Linked DNA regions of Homo sapiens: region 1 is linked to region 2. The links are contacts of gene promoters, found by promoter capture Hi-C in blood cells and fetal thymus (Javierre and others, 2016). All regions are on one chromosome and are shown on one strand. Each heading gives the region's core, a stretch centred on a gene start or on the middle of the fragment in contact. The rest is flanking DNA. Distances are from core to core; before and after follow the strand shown. Region 1 overlaps XRCC4 (X-ray repair cross complementing 4). Region 2 holds the start of COX7C (cytochrome c oxidase subunit 7C).

Region 1 (4,797 bases), core at 2,012-4,511, 3.5 Mb after region 2:
CATTAAAACATTCACTGATTACTTCCTATGTACCAGGATTTGATATCCCAAAGATCAGTAAGACACATTCGCAACTCTCTACTGAAATAGAGACACCCAAACAGAATTATAATATAAGTTTGTAAAATGCAGAGGTAGGAAGGGAGCTCCTCTGAAAAGCAGCACTTACCCTGGCCTGACATTTTAGGGAAGGCTTCCTTGAGTTACATCTAATATTATACGAATCTTTAAAGAGAAATGGTCAGGTGAAAACAACTTAGGGGTAGAGGAAGAAAGATAAGGAAGGGCATTCCAAATAGAAGAGTCTGCATGAGTAAAAACTTGGAGGCAAGAAATAGCATGATACATGGAAGTGATAAATAATTCAGTGTTTCAGACTGCAAATCAAAAATTACAGGTTCATGGTCAAATGCGGTGGCTCATGCCTGTAATCCCAGCACCTTCATGCCTGTAATCCCAGCACTTTGGGAGGCTGAGGCGGGTGGATCACGAGGTCAGGAGTTCGAGACCAGTCTGGCCAACATGGTGAAACCCCGTCTGTACTAAAAATACAAAAAATTTGCTGGGCATGGTGGCATGCACCTGTAATCCCAGCTACTCAGGAGGCTGAGAAGAGAGAATTGCTGGAACCCAGGAGGCAGAGGTTGTAGTGAGTAGAGATTGTGCCACTGCACTCCAGCCTGGGAAACGGAGCAAGACTCCATCTCAAAAAAAAAAAAAAAAAAATTACAGATTCAAACACCCAATCAAGTCAGTCATTCATTCAAACAAAACCTACTGAGTACTTCTATGCCTCAGACAAATGCTTTAGAATGTGGCATAAGACAACAAAACAGATAAAAATGCCTGCCTTCATGGATTTTACATTTTAATAGGGGAACACAATTAAAAATACATGTAACAAATATGTAATACATATATAGAATAATGATAAGCGCTGAAGTAAAAAGAGGAGATAAAACAGGGTGGAGGAGATAGGGGTAGGGGCTATGGAAGTTGCAAAGCTTCAATTTAAATAGGGAGGTTGGGATATGCTTTACTGCAAAGGTGACATTTGAACAACATGTAAAAGCTATGAAGGAATAGCTGTATGGATCCAAAAGCATTCTAGAAAGAAGCAGCAGTCAGTGCAAAGGCCCTGTGGTAGAAGTAGGCCTAGTGTACTTAAGAAACAGGGTGGTAAGTATGGCTGGAACAAAGGGAGAGAGAATACAAAGACATGTAGTCAGAGAGGTAATGGGAGACCAGATCATGTAGAGCAGAGGTGTCCAATCTTTTGACTTCCTTAGGCCACACTGGAGGAAGAATTGTCTTGGGCCACACATAAAATACACTAACACTAATGATACCTAAAGGGCTCAAAAAAAAAAAAATCTCATAATGTTTTAAGAAAGTTTACAAATTTGTGGTGGGCCGCATTCAAAGCCATCATAGGCCACAGGCAGCCTGTGAGCTGTAAGTTGGACAAGACTGATGTAGACTATTGTAGGCCAACGTAAGGCTGTTAGCTTCTACTATGAATCAAATGATTCACGAAAGGTTTTTAAGCAAAAAAGTAATGTTTTATTCTTCTGTATATTATTTTGAAATAATTCTGAATTTACAGAAGGGTTACAAAGATAATAGAAAGTTCTCATATACCCCTCACCCAATTTCTTCTAATATTAACATCTTATACTACCACGGTGCATTTATCAAAACCAGGAAACCAACACTGATACATTTCTATCAACTAAACCATAGACTTTATTTGGATTTCACCAGTTTTTCCATTAATAACCTCTTTCTGTTTCAGGATCCAATCTAGCATAACATATTGCATTTAGAATCTTACATGTAAATACACAATTTTTTATTTATATTTTAAAAGTATCACTCTGGCTGACATATGAGAATAGACTGTAGGGAGGCAAGGACTGAAAAAAGCAGAGAGAACAGAACACAATTACTATAATCCAGGCAAGAAATGATAGTGGGTAATAACAAAAATCTGAGCAAGAGATGATCAGTATACTAATAGCAGAAATAGTAGAAAACTGTTGAATTCTAGATATATTTCATAGAAAAAGCCAACAGATTTGTTGGAATACAAGAGAAAGGAAGGAGTCAAGGATGACTCCAAAGATTTAACTGAGCAACTGGCTGTATAAAGTTGCCATCAATTCAGATGAGAAAGAATGGGAAAGGTTTGGGAGGAAAGGAGTTCGGTCTGGGACATCTGAGTTCAAGATATCTTTTAAATATACCAATGAAGATGCAGAGGTAGAAAAAGAGGAATTGGAACATGGAGCATAGAAAACTCTTTAGAGGATTTTTGTTGCAGAGAAGAGCAAACAAATGGGGTTGAAAATGGAGAAAGGTTAAGAGAAACATTTCTTAAGGTAAAAGAAATAAGACATACATTAAATAGAAGTGTCTTTTTTGGTGAAACTTCTTTTTTTAAAAAATGTTAATGTGTATATTTGAGGTTTACAAGTTGACATTATAGGATACACACAGATAGTAAAATGGTTATTTTAGTCAAGGAGATTAACACCTATCATCTATCTTATTTTTTGTGTGTGACAAGGGCAGCTGAAACTCTACTTATTTAACAAAAATCCCTAACAGAATAAAACTGTATTAACTTTGGTCCTCAAGTACATTTCAGTCTGAATTGAAAAGCCATGTGGGAAGGGAATAAAAACAAGGGGGGAGAAAAAAAGGACAAACACTGGAACATGAAAAACCTCTACCTGAGGTTAGGGAGGCTAGCTGAGGATAAGAGGAAAAAAGCAGAACAATTGTCTTTCAATATATGTGAATAACAGTGAATGAAAAAAGGTAGGTAATGTAAAAGGTAATGTAAATCAACCCTATCATTAACACTAGCAACAAAGTAAAAAGAGAAAATGGGGAGAAAGTGGTCTGGTGATACAAATGCAATACCAACTTAATACTAAAACCTTTTATAGCAGTCCTCTCCTTATCCAAGGGTGTATATCCCAAGGCCCCGTGAGGAGGCTGAATCCAACTGCCTTCAATCTGAGCATGCTTCTGTTCACATTTTCTAACCACAAATTTAATTCCTTTTTTATCTTAACTAAGCTTTTATAATGCACTATGGCTATAAGTTTGGCAGTTTGAGGTGTGACAGTAAAACTAGCATAAATTTCTTTTTGCTTATTCACAATTTTACAGATAGATTTGTTCTTACCATAGTTCTTAACAACATCAACATAGGATTTCTTTTCTTCCTTATTAAGTGGAGAACTTTCCTTTTTTTGCTTAAAAGAGGCACTTTACAGCTACTCTTTGGCATAACCAAATTGCCAGCGTCGTTACTCTTGTGCTTTGAAGCAATAATTAAGTAAAATAAGTATTCCTAGAACACACGCACTGTGATACCACCTCCATCAATCTGATAACCAAGCAACTAAAAGGCAGGAAGCTTATACAGCAGGGATACGCTAAACAAGGAGATGATTCATGGCCCCGGGCTGAATGGGATAGGATGGAATAAGATTTCATCACAACTCAGAAAGGCATGCTATTTAAAATGTATGCATTATTTCTGGAATTTTTTTTTTTTTTTTTGAGATGGAGTCTCGCTCTGTTGCCCACGCAGGAGTACAGTGGCACAATCTCGGCTCACTGCAGCCTCCACCTCCCGGGTTCAATTGATTCTCCTGCCTCAGCCTCCTGACTAGCTGGGACTACAGGCACATGCCACCACGCCTGGCTAATTTTTGTATATTAGTAGAGATGGGGTTTCACCATGTTGGCCAGGCTGGTCTCAAACTCCTGACCTCAAGTGATCTGCCCGCCTTGGTCTCCCAAAGTGCTGGAATTACAGGCATGAGCCACCGCACCCGGCTGGAATTTTCTACTTAATATTTTCAGACTGTGGTTGATCATGGGTAACTGAAACTGCAGAAATCAAAACCTCAGATAAGGAGGGACTACTGTATTTAGTGCCTAATATATGCAATTCAACCATTCCTCCATTATAATTCCTCCTCTCCAGGGACTTTTAATTTAGCAAAGACAAAGCCATGCACAGTAATAGCCAACACTTTCTGAGTGCTTACTGTATGCCAAACATTTGCCTAGATGATTTACTTGTAATAACTCATGTAATCCTCATAACACTGAGGACACCTGTGCACTGGCGCCACAGAAAACTACAAATATCCACTATTTTTACATACGATTTTAATATACCCATGAAACCAAAGTTGGAAATATTCTTCCAGATGCAGGTGAGATAATACTTTTTGAACAGGCCAGACGTGGTGCGGTGGCCTACACCTGTAATCCCAGCACTTTGGGAGGCCGAGGCGGGAGGATCACTTGAGCCCAGGAGTTTGAGACCAGCCTAGGCAACATAGTGAGCCCTGTCTCTACAAAAAATAAAATAAAATTAGCCAAGTATGGTGGCATGCAACCATGGTCCCGGTTACTGGGGATACTGAGGGAGGAGGATAGATCGCTTCTGCCCTGGAGGTTGAGGCTGCAGTGAGTCATGATTGTGCCACTGCACTCCACCCTGGGCAACAGAGCAAGATCCTGTCTCAAAAATAAAAATAAATAATAATTTTTGAACAAAGGAATAACACAGACAGATTTTATTTCTAGTAAGGAAAGGATCCAAGATGGTTTTAAATGAGGATTCACTGCAAAGCTGCCAGAAAGATTTTAGAAATTGTGATATAATCTGAAAACCAAAAAGTAGGGGGTTTATGTAAGACAATGGAGCTAAACTACCACCTCCCAAAAAAAACTCACCACGTCAGATTAACTTTGATGTTTTACATA
Region 2 (5,312 bases), core at 1,747-4,246:
TAAATTACCAACAAAATCCTGACCTGGGAATCAAAAATTTAATATAACCTCAGTTTAACACCATTAAATAAGCTAAATCACAGAGAGTAATACTGGAATGTTACCCAAATAATAAAGTAGGCAAATGGCCAATTATTACATTCCCTATTTCAAAAAAGAGGCATTAAGCATTCACGTCATAAGTTTATTGACAAACATATCTAGTATGGCATATGAGTTCTAGTTTGATCCACTTCCAGAGGCTGCACCTCTTAAAATGCTCTTCATATCTGCAAAATAAAAACAGAAATTAATGGCATTTTAAAAATCCCATTCATTTAACAGAAATCATGTAGTTTCATGAAAATATTTTCTATCAGTTTGAGTAGTACATCAGAAAGCGTTTACAGTATCATGAATTCATTCATACTGATTTGCTTCATCACATGCACCGCAACCTTTCCGCATTAGTAGCTTGGATAAGTTATTCCCCCTCTAAACTATGACACTCTTTCCAATCATCCTAGTGTTCTATAGTATTACTCTGAGAAACTCTGATGACAATTAAGCTAAATATTTTATCCACACACAGCAAATCTGCTAACCTTCCAATATGAACGACTCCTTTGAGCATATATTAACATATCCCCTTGACACAAGGCTTCTCAACCTCAGCACCACTGGTAATTTTGCCCCCAAGTTGGAACGATCAAAAATGTCTCACATTGCCAAATGCCCCATTGTGTTGTAAAATCATCCTCATTTAAGAACCACTGCCTTAATGAGGAAAGTATATTTAAAAGTTTGAGTTTCCCAACATGGCTGAGTTGGTGAGGCACAGATTTACAATTGCATAATTATCTGGGACTTATGTATCAAGGAGCACTAGAAGGGTTTTATCTTCAGGGATTTTTCACAACTTAAACAAGTATTGTAAGCCAATTTAAAAACTAGGAGCACAGTGACCACTTTCTAAAAGAAATGGAAATGTTTATAGTGTTTTAAAAGACACATTCTCAGCTACTGTTCTAGTAACAGTGTTCAAGATAGAGTAACATTAATCAGTTTATCAGTTTTACCTGGTTAAAAGTGTGAGTTCTGCAACAAGAAACTGCCTGGGCAAGAGTCCTGGTCCACCATTATACTAGTTATGAGATGTTGAACAACTTAACATCTCTGTGTCTCAGATGGGGTTACTATCATCCGCCTCACAAGCTTGCTAGAGAACATGAGATATCGATGTAAAGTGTACCTGATAAGCAGTAGTATTCAATAAACACTGGCCATTATTGAAATATTTTTATATAGGTTTACAACTAGTCTCCACCAATGCCACATCTACACATAACCTCAGGAATCAGCCCTACACAACAATGTATTTGTGTGTGTGTTCTGGGTGATGGGGAAGAGGCTACTTAATAAAAAGGCCTGCTTTAACATGATTAGAAATCCACTAACTACCTGTTAAATGGAGGAACTGAAACATCCTTATGTTTTAAGCAGTTGGTGTCTTACTACAAGGAAGGGTGTAGCAAATGCAGATCCAAAGTACAAACACATCTTAGCTAGTAACGACCACTTGTTTTCCACTGAAAATGGCAAATTCTGTTGGAAAAAAAGAGAAAAAGTAATCGAAATTGAATCTCAAATCATCTGCTTAATAATCAAAATACAAGTATACAGGAAATGCTAGTTATATTTTACATCATCAGGTTAACATATGCCATAAATCATAACATCGTTTTAAACATTTATCTTTCAAATCCTATGACCTTCATCACAAAACACTACATGGCAAGAAATAATCTGGCTTTACTAAGCACTAGGCAATGAATGGTCTTGAGGACTCAAACGTCAAATAGTGAGAAGTTTCTTACTTTAGAAAATCGAAAAAACTACTGTCCTAAGTAGTCACCTTAGAAGATACATGGCAATGTTAAGTGCAATACAGCTCTTTTTTTTTCTTTTTTTTTTTTTTTGAGACGGAGTCCCGCTCTGTCCAGGCTGGAGTGCAGTGGCCCGATCTCGGCTCACTGCAACCTCCACCTCCCGGGTTCAAGCGATTCTCCTGCCTCAGCCTCCCGAGTAGCTGGGATTAGAGGCACACACCACCACGTCCGGCTAATTTTTTTGTACTTTTTAGTAGAGACAGGGTTTCGCCATGTTGGCCAGGCTGGTCTGGAACTCCTGACCTCAGGTGATCCGAACGCCTTAGCCTCCCGATTACAGGCGTGCGCCACCGCACCTGGCCCACAGTTTTTTTTGTTTGTTTGTTTTTCATTACCAAGCACCTTCTCTGGCCTTTATGACTAGGCCTCGTGTGACCCTCCGAGATTGTTACTGCTATGTGGTTTAAGTTATTTACACCTGAGGCCAAACCCAGCCTTAACTGAGGTGAAGGGTTAGTACTTCTAACTTAGGCAGCTAGTTTAAAAAGCCTGTTCCATAACCAGAGGCCCTGATTTCCTCATGATTTTCCAATGACCTTCATTTCGGGTCCGATGACCTCCAGCTCGGATTTAACCAACACACCTACAGCCGTGGCCTCCCGGAGCCATCTCAGGGCTTTCTGCGGGGCGGGGGAGGGGGCGTCAGGTGGCTGATGGAGGCAGGGCTTCCGGATCTACCTGCCCATTCCTTTAGCGGCTACGCGCTAGGATGCCCAGCTTCCTCACTGGTCCTTGGGCTAAGTGGAATGCTAGTCTGCGTCTCAGCCTGGTTTCTGGCTATCATCTCCCACGCCACAGCCCGGAGGCGGCCTTGCAGGTGCGCGAGTCACAGCCAAGCGCCCCCTCCCCCAACGAAGCCGTGCCCCTTACACACTAACCTTCCCAGGGCCCTCCTCATAGTGGCTCCTACGGACCACAGAGGTTGTGAACCTCCGGATGCTCTGGCCCAACATACCGCTGCTGGAAGCTCTGCGAAAGGCGCAGAGAATGAGGACAGATGAAATGGCGGCACCTCACCAAGACCTTTTTTTTCACGACCTTGTTCCCCGGTGCGCAAGGACTGAAAAGAAAGATGGGAAATGGGGCGGAGCCTTGAGGAAACGCGACAAAGCGGAAATCGCCCTGGATTGTGGGAATTGTAGTTCAGACCATTGCGGAGCCTTATCAGCCCCCGAAGGATTGTGGGAAATGTAGTTTCGCGCCAGGCTTAGGTCTAGGATTCCTGGGGCCTGTTACCGGAAACGATTTTATTGAATCAAGTGAAGCAGTTTCACCCCGTATACTCTAGTCTGTTGAAAAGGACAATAAACCCATCCCTTTTCTCTTCTTTCTTTCTTTTTTAAAAATAAAGTATATGCTAGGTGTCAATGATTTCGAGGACTTTTGCCAATGCTGAGAGATATGTGCTAATGATCCTAGCTGAAGAAACAAAGCATAAACACAAGTAATCAAACAACGTGCAGCACAAAGGACTTCAGAGAGAAAACTGAAATGCTAAGGGAATGATCACTAAAGATAATGGGAATCGAATAAAAAAGAAGGAAGAACAAAGGGCAGGGAAAACTCAAGTCTGGTATGAGTACAGCATGTGTGAGGAGTAGAAGGGAAAAGTGGCCTCTGACACCTGGAGCTAGCCTGGACTAGGAACTGGTGTCCGCCTGATGAACGTACACAATTTCAGCAAGCATTAGCATCCAACAAGACCACTCTGACAGTGTTCATTAAGAAAAGAATATGATCACTGTGTAATCACATCTGAACACAGATAAAACATTGTCCAAGCCACGAAAATGACCGGACATCACCCTATCTGGTTTAATTTGATGACTTCTGCTTCTTTACCAATTACAATCTTAGCCTTGATCTAGCCTTTCTTCCTCCTAAGATTTGGTAAGGTAGCCAATATTAGGAGAAAAAAATCCCAAATCCAATAAGCATTTTCTAATATTTTACAGAGAACCCTTACTGCAATGAATAATAAACCCCGTTTGTCAATTACATGTGTGCTTCTGGTGGTCTTTGACCAGAAGGTATTGAGAAGAAACCAGTGATAAATGAACCTGGGAAAGTGGTGTTAGGTTAGATTGTGAAAGGCCCTGGTAACCTAAATGTTATGTTATTCATCTGTGGGGGAGTGTATATTGCCTCACGTGTCTCATTTATATAGCATTAGGAAACAATTCCAATAAGACCTAAGGTTTGCTTTGAAAAGGGCATAACATATATGCTCTTTTCGTCTTTTTTTTTTTTTTTTTTTTCAGTTTTTGGAAGAGAACAACCATGCCCCTCCCCCCCAAAAAAACACTTAAAAAAAACACTTAAATTCATATTTTGTTTCAACAAGTAGCTTCTTTTTGAGTAGGGGTTCATGAAATGCATCATAACTGGTGTCCTCTACCACCTAATTTATAGAAGTTATGTGACATTCCATTTTTTTTTAACATTCCGTTCACTGCCTTTACATATTAAAGAATTCTGATTTAACTATAATTGAGAAACTTTTTCACACTTAATATTTCTAGATTACACTTTTCAATCTAGTGTGAGTAATGTTATCTGTGGATTTGGTTCATTGTTGCTTCTAATTCACATTAATTGAGCCTCCATTGGGTATCTGGCTTTGAGTTAACTCTTTAGGGACCTGCAGGGCAGAGATTCCAGAATATGGTTTCAGAACTGTCTGCCTTCTCATGGGCTTTGTGGTAAGTTAAATACAAAAAAAAAAAATATGTTTGGCCGGGCGCGGTGGCTCACGCCTGTAATCCCAGCACTTTGGGAGGCCAAGGCAGGCGGATCACGAGGTCAGGAGATTGAGACCATCCTGGCTAACACGGTGAAACCCCGTCTCTACTAAAAATACAAAAAATTAGCCGGGCGTGGTGTCGGGCGCCTGTAGTCCCAGCTACTTGGGAGGCGGGGGCAGGAGAATGGTGTGAACCCGGGAGGCAGAGCGTGCAGTGAGCCGAGATCACACCACTGCACTCCAGCCTGGGCGACAGAGCGAGACTCCATCTCAAAAAAAAAAAAAAAAAAAGTTTATACCTATGTAAATATGGGGGAGGGTGGTGGTTACACTCAAGTGCCGGGCATGTGAGTGAAGCTATCTTGGACACTTCAGCCCAGCCCCGCCCTCAGCTGAATATTGCTGAGTGACCACAGTCACTGCTGTGTGGAGCAGAGTTGTCTAGTTGACTCCTACCCAAAATGTTGTTCTAGAGATTTGTGTGGTATAATAAAATGGTTGTTTTTTCAAGTCATTAAGTTTGGGGTAGTTTTTTATGGAGCAACAAAGAGAGAACTAGAAGTAACACAGCTGTTCTATTTAAGGAAATTAGCCTTTCTTCTAGATGCCATGAGGAAAACAGTTTCTCATTACCAATCTGT

The links. Contacts are between HindIII fragments. The CHiCAGO score rates a contact against its expected background, and 5 or more counts as called.
Region 1: a contact is called between a fragment that was not itself captured here and the fragment with the promoter of COX7C in region 2, in 7 of 17 cell types (non-activated CD4 T cells, total CD4 T cells, total B cells and 4 more). The highest score is 12.7, in non-activated CD4 T cells.

Annotation. Positions count from the first base shown.
Region 1 is chr5:83,079,305-83,084,101 of GRCh38, reverse strand. The region is part of intron 1 of XRCC4 (X-ray repair cross complementing 4); the gene reads right to left. Among named protein-coding and RNA genes, the nearest start is that of XRCC4, 4.2 kb to the right of the region's middle. The HindIII fragment of the contact is 343 bases long and covers 3,090-3,432 here.
Region 2 is chr5:86,615,625-86,620,936 of GRCh38, reverse strand. COX7C (cytochrome c oxidase subunit 7C) reads right to left here and starts at 2,996. Exons shown (of 3, transcript NM_001867.3): 1 at 2,807-2,996; 2 at 1,441-1,584; 3 at 1-269. The coding sequence starts at 2,881. The coding sequence ends at 1,468. It overlaps SNORD138 (small nucleolar RNA, C/D box 138), which reads right to left and starts at 431; the gene lies at 369-431. RefSeq lists enhancers at 1,906-2,571, 2,869-2,958, 2,891-3,185, 2,572-3,237, 3,249-3,328. The HindIII fragment of the contact is 5,230 bases long and covers 1,197-5,312 here.